Regions from separate parts of the Homo sapiens genome. Here region 1 is linked to region 2. Evidence: promoter capture Hi-C in 16 types of primary human blood cells and fetal thymus (Javierre and others, 2016). All regions are on one chromosome and are shown on one strand. The core of a region is centred on a gene start or on the middle of the fragment in contact, and the rest is flanking DNA. Distances in the headings are between cores, read along the strand shown.

Evidence for each region. Contacts are between HindIII fragments. The CHiCAGO score rates a contact against its expected background, and 5 or more counts as called.
Region 1: a contact is called between a fragment that was not itself captured here and the fragment with the promoter of DSC3 in region 2, in 1 of 17 cell types (M0 macrophages). The highest score is 5.0, in M0 macrophages.

Annotation. Positions count from the first base shown.
Region 1 is chr18:31,408,555-31,411,955 of GRCh38, forward strand. DSG4 (desmoglein 4) reads left to right here. Exons shown (of 16, transcript NM_177986.5): 13 at 898-1,037; 14 at 1,191-1,254; 15 at 2,677-2,894. All of the region lies in intron 1 of DSG1-AS1 (DSG1 antisense RNA 1), which reads right to left. Among named protein-coding and RNA genes, the nearest start is that of DSG1-AS1, 17 kb to the right of the region's middle. The HindIII fragment of the contact is 169 bases long and covers 2,040-2,208 here.
Region 2 is chr18:31,041,264-31,044,251 of GRCh38, forward strand. DSC3 (desmocollin 3) reads right to left here and starts at 1,479. Exons shown (of 16, transcript NM_001941.5): 1 at 1,329-1,479. The coding sequence starts at 1,397. It overlaps LOC124904345 (a long non-coding RNA gene), which reads left to right and starts at 270. Exons shown (of 2, transcript XR_007066445.1): 1 at 270-571; 2 at 1,179-2,988. The HindIII fragment of the contact is 1,969 bases long and covers 402-2,370 here.

The DNA of each region.
Region 1 (3,401 bases), core at 874-3,373, 370 kb after region 2:
TTTAATTTTTGTGGGTACATAATAGGTGTACATATTTATGGGGTACATTAGCTGCTTTGATACAGGCATGCAATGTGAAATAATCACATCCTGGAGAATGGGGCATCCATCCCCTCAAGCATTTATCCTTCTATTCTTTATCTTTAATTAACCCACTTAGTAAAATGCATGCCATGCTAGAGAATTAGGAAAGTATGAAAAGCAACCAGAGTGGGCCCAAAGAACTAAACAGAGTGTATTCTAGAATCTTAGAAAACTTAAGCAGTGTCTATATTTATGGATTAAAATACAGAATTGAGGTGATTATTAGGGTAACAAATAGGAAATTTCCTCTTAAGAAACACTTGGATAGCTAAACATTTTTGATAGCTTTAATTTTTCATTATAGTCTATAAACAAAGTCTTAAAATAATTGTAAATATCTCCATTAAATTTAGTGAGTATTATTTGACTTCTATTTTAAGTGTAACTGTAATAAGGATTGAAGATAGGTCCTATCTCCAGGTCCTATAGCTGAATCCTGTATTCAATCCTCTTGATAACATATATTCATGATGCGTTTAACTTACATGTATGTGTGCATCTGCCCCAACCAGTTCAAGAGTCTTAGACTAAAGACGACCTTACTTTCCTAATCTGTCAGCAAAGAAATTCAATTACCTGATCGCAAACTCCTTGCCATCTAGCGCTAAAGTTCTATGTGATTTGGTGGTGCTGTATTTATAAACTTGGATATGTATACTCAATCCCCTAAAGGAAAAAAATGAGATTTTCTTACATATATTTGTATTTTTGTTCTAAATATACTGCCACCAAATGCTCCCCAGAATGATTCATCCAGTGACTTCCTAAACCGAGCAATGTGTGTTAACTCGACATTGTCACTTTCTTGGGCAGTGGCTCCACTCTTGCTGCTCCTGTGTTGCTGCAAACAGAGACAGCCAGAAGGCCTGGGAACAAGATTTGCTCCTGTGCCTGAGGGCGGAGAAGGAGTGATGCAGTCTTGGAGAATTGAAGGGGCCCATCCCGAGGACAGGGTAAGTGGACTGTCACTCTCCAGAGAAGTGTGGAGTTTCAGTGGAAATTGAGCATGTCTTAACAATTACATGCTGCACAAAAATGAACAGATGTCAGTTTTTAAATGTTTAACATAAAGCGTTTGTTTTTAAAATGTTTATTTTTCTTTTCAGGATGTGTCAAATATATGTGCACCCATGACAGCCTCAAATACCCAGGATCGGATGGATTCCTCTGGTCAGTAGACACCAAAATCTGTTTTTCCTTTTAAATTTTTCAAAATTATTCAACCAGACCAACTTCATGTAAAAGTACCTTATGGAAAAGTCTGTCAGTCTCTTTGGGTGACAGTATAATTAGAGGGAATGTGACCTGTTTGAAGTAGCCACTTTTTTTTTCTATCTGAAACTACAGACAGTGAAGTATGACACAGCAGTTAAAAGAGCAAACTCTGGAAGCAGAATGCTTGGGTTTGATTCCCAGCTCTGCCACTTGCTTAAGGGTTGCATATCTTTTATCCGAAATGCATAGGACCATGAGTTTGAGTTTGGCTCAAACTTTTTGTACCATGATGATCAAAAAGTTTCAGACTTAGGAGCATTTTGGATTCTTGATTATTGGATTTGGGATGCTCAACCTGTAGTAATAAGTCCTTAGTCAAGACATTTAACCTCACTGGGCCTCAGTTTCCTTATCTTTAAAATTGAGCTTATGATAGTACCTACTTTAAAGTGTTGCTGTGAGGAGTAAATAATACATATTACATATGTAATATATAATACATACATATATTGTATAGATTATTTTATTATATATAACATACATGTGTATGTGTGTCTATATATATACACACACACATATATAAGTGTGTATATATACATATATCACAAAATATACGTTAGAGTAGTGCCTGGCACTGTAGTAATTATTTATAATACAAGCTGTTTTTTTTTAAAGAGCTAAAGAAAAGGCAGTAAATGTACTCTAATAATACACTGAATAACTTTTCTTAACTTCAGACAAGCTTTTGCCTCAAAAGAGTGTCGTAAACTCTCCTATCTTACCAGCCCCACGCATATCTAACAATACTGAACACACTACTTAGCTATATGGCAATGATTGCACCAAACAGAGAGGGTGCTTAATTCTGCAGTGCACGTGAGCTTTCTCTGATGGTTCCTTAGTATCCCAAGCTTGGCCCTTTGTATGCAAAGAAACTCCGTGACTGAACATCCCTGTGAGCCCAGCTCCATCCTGTTCCGGAGTGAAGGAGGACTATGAGCTCAGTTTCTGCAATCACGCCGCTGGCCTTGCTTTGGAGGGCTCCCGGCTGGATCAAGCCCGCAGCAGCCACGGCGGGAACGGGCGCCTGCTTGTAGTTCTCTTGGCTAGTTCTACACCTTTAAGTCTAGGGCGAAGTCTGTGCAAATGTGGGAAGGCCACGTCCCACCACTGACTCCCTCTGTGTAATTAATTTACTTTTATTTGGTCAACAAGCCTGGAGATGTATCGGTGTAACTTGTATCTCTCTTTGTCAGCTTTTTAGCGCCTACGCCTTGCCGGGTGGTGGTGGCACCGCAGACGGCGGCGGCAGCGTTTTAGGCAGATGCGCGCTGCAGGCAACTCCAGCGCTGTTAAACCAACATCCTCCCTTTTCAGAAATCTACACCAACACCTATGCAGCCGGGGGCACGGTGGAAGGAGGTGTATCGGGAGTGGAGCTCAACACAGGTATGGGGACAGCCGTTGGCCTCATGGCCGCAGGGGCCGCAGGAGCCTCAGGGGCCGCAAGGAAGAGGAGCTCTACCATGGGAACCCTGCGGGACTACGCTGACGCAGACATCAACATGGCTTTCTTGGACAGCTACTTCTCGGAGGTAATGCCCTCACAGTCACACATAAAATCGTCTTGAGATTGAATAATAATAATAGTAAAATACTCACAATGGTAGTAGGCCTCTTCGGAAATATGCTGTTATTCTCAACCCTATCCCAAACCTGAATAAAAAGTATTTCACGTCTCCTTAAAACACAAAATGCTAATTTGCCACAGGATTTCATATTCAACTGCCATAGCGCATCTTAGTACCGTGAACAAGGCCACACCCCTCATCATTCTCCACTTCCCTTTTCCATTTTTCTATCTTTTGTTTCCTTGATTCCTCACCTTGTTTCCCACAGCAGTAGCAAAGCAGGAAAATGCTCATCAAGGGGAAAAAAGGTGCATTTATGACCTCTGTTTTTGATGTCCTTCATGTTCTCCCGGAGCCTCCAACAGAAAAGAGAAAATAAAAAGAATTGGGAACGAAAGGAGTTAAAACTCAGGAACGCAGCATCACCACAACTCGTGCTAGATTAAGACCTAGAAGATAGCTCTCCTATTC
Region 2 (2,988 bases), core at 229-2,728:
GCTGAAAATGCTTTTAAATATATTACAAAAGAACACATTCTCTAAGCCGTTTCCATTTGTAGTCACTTCATAAGCTCAGATACTTTGTTGGAACAGTTCCCGGGCAAATGGATGCGCTTATTTGTCCAATTCCTTCTCCATAAACATATCGTAGATCATAACTACCAATCCCATATTCATACCTCGCTGACCTTAAGGGAGGACAACCCTTGGACCCACTCCCACTTGCCAGGGTGGAGGGCCAGGAAGCAGTAAGAATCCGCGAGACCAGACTCGGCTCACTGCCGACGCGGGTATAGACCTCGCTCCCATCGGACCCCATGCGCATCCATGGATGCGGGTAAGTCGCGGGTCCGCGGCTCCTTTCTGGGCGTGCGGAATGAAACTCTGTTGAAGCCTGAAGCTTCGCGTGTAACCGCGCCGCCAGAGTTCCGAACACTTCAAGTCTCCCGTGTTCTCAGAGCATCGTCTCTAACTTCCTCTCCTAGAGGATTTCGTCCTGGGCGGCAGGTTTCCGTAGACTCGAAACCCCAGGCTGTGCTCCGGCCGCGCAGTCCTCCCCGGAGCCGGAGTAAGTACGACGCAACCCCACCGCATCCATCATCCCCCACCACTGTCACCCTCTACCCGCCTCCACACCTCGGCAGCATCCCCAAAACACAACACGACCCCAACCCCCATTCTGGCCCGGTCTTCCCACACTTTCGCGCCCCCGGCACATCCCGCCCCCAGCTGGGTGGCTGGCGGGGGTGGACCGCTTGGGTGAGCTTCTGAATACCCTTTAGGGGAGATACCGAGAAACCCACTTCTCAGGGGCAGCCCCACCAAGGGACCCAGGGACACAGCCCCGGCTCCACTCACTAACGAACCAATCCGGGTCAACTGCGACCCAGAGCTGGGGAGGGGGCAGCCCCTAAATCCCTTTTCAAGTCTGTGCTTTGAGCTCTCAGGGATCCTCTCCACCCAAAGGCGCCCTCCAACCACCATCACCACCAGCTCCACCACCTGGGGAGAAGCGTGAATCCCAACCCCCTGCCCAACCCGCGACGGCGCCCGCCAGAGCGCAGCGAAGCCTGAGCGCGACTCAGAATTCCAACAATCGAACACCTTGTCTCAAAACAAAAAGCTCAGTCCAGAGTCGACCCGCAAACACACGTTTTCTCTCCTCACTCCTGCAGGCCCGAACTTGGGGCTGCTACCAGACCCGCAGCATTGATCTGAGCCGCGGTTGTCACGTTTCGGCCCGCTTTGTCCCCAGCTCCGTGCAGCGTCCAGGGCGGATCCACCCCCGTCCCCACCCCAGCCCTATCCGGCGAGATCTGGCTTACCACGAGGGTCAGCAGCAGATGCAGGCAGACGGCTCCGCGCACGGAGCGCCGGGGCCCAGCGGCGGCCATCGGGATGCCGGGCAGGGCCAGGAGAACGCGGGCGCCGGGAGGGTGCCGAGAGCGAGACCTGCCGAGGTGCAGGGCGCGGGAGGTGCTTTTCTCGCCGCTGCTTGTTTTTAAGTGTATTTGGCCTCTCTCAGGCTTGCCTGCCCGGGAGCAACTTCACTTCTGAAACCGGATTGGACCCAGAGGACGCGGAGAGGCCACTCCTTGTTATTTCTCAAGTTTTATCATCGCCGGCGCGGCTGAGGAGCTGCCCGAGCCTGCCCCTCTGCTCCCCAGCAGCCACCCGGGCGTTCGCGCTCGGGAAAGCGGTCTCTGGCGCACCCTCTGCCAGTTCTCCCACGCCCCTCGGCTGCCCCGCGGCGCTGCCGCCCCGCCCGGCCCGCAGAGAGGCCCTGGCAGCCCAGATCGTCCCAGGGCGGCCCCATCGCCGGCGCTGCGCGGTGCATCTCAATGCAGAACCCCAATCCGCCCGCAGGGATCCCTGCCTCGACACGGGCTCTGCTGGATGCCAGGAACACCCTTGTCATTGGATCAGCGGATCTCCCCTTCGACGTCTGAACAAATTCTGCCAATGTTTTCAGATTAAAGCAAAATACATGTACTGTATTCTCTCCGGATTTGACTAACATGACAAAATACACGACAGAAGGAATTTATCCCAGATGGCATGATAAACAGTTTTTGGCATGTCAGAAATTAAAACCAAATTTAAGAAATTCTAATCTAACCATTTTTACGCACCCAAAATATGAGTGATTACACTCAGCGCTCTATTAACTGTCAGTTTGGGGGACTCATATGAACCTTCTAAAAACGACTTTGTTCTTAGATGTGAATTATTGGTTTACTACTTACTGGTACCAAAATGAAATTTTTCAGGTGGTCAAAGGAATATCTACCACACAAAACCTTCTAAAACGAGGCTTACAGATTCTACATCATGCAACGACTATTTATCAGGGCCCGAAGTCGGCCAAGCTTTGTGTGAGGGCATGGAAGAAAGGAAATGCAGAAAATCTAGTTCCTGTCGGAAATAATTCAAAGTCAGAAAGGGACGAAAGACAATCATTCCTAGCCCAGTAGGCTACACTTTTTAATAGAGATGTCGTTTGTAACACCAGGGGGACATCCTCTTATTTCTCCCTAAACTGAATTTTAAGTTCCCCGAGTTCCCATCTACTGGATTCAGGAGGAAATCCCTCTCAGACATGAGATGCTACTCCTCGAAGTCCATTCAAAAGTTGCAAGGTCGGGAATTTCAGACAGCCAATTAATCATGAAAGGGTGTTATGACCTTCATTCATCTCACTCTGGCTCAAGTCTAATAGACTCCTCGTCGTCTAAGCCATGTATTCCCTGAAGTCTGGGGCTTCCCTGAAACTCATGAGGCTCAGCTTTAAGGGCTCAGACACTCTAAGTTGAGCTTCCCAGTGTGAATCTCCCAGGCACCCGTCAGTGGAGGTCTCTGTATGTAAGAGCTCTTCCAGTCTCAGAGAAAGTTCTCCAAACTTCTCTCCACTCCAGGGTTTTCACCTCCCATCCTCCACGTGCCTCCAGCATGACCTCAGAGAAAGCTTCTCAAAGTCACTTCCAG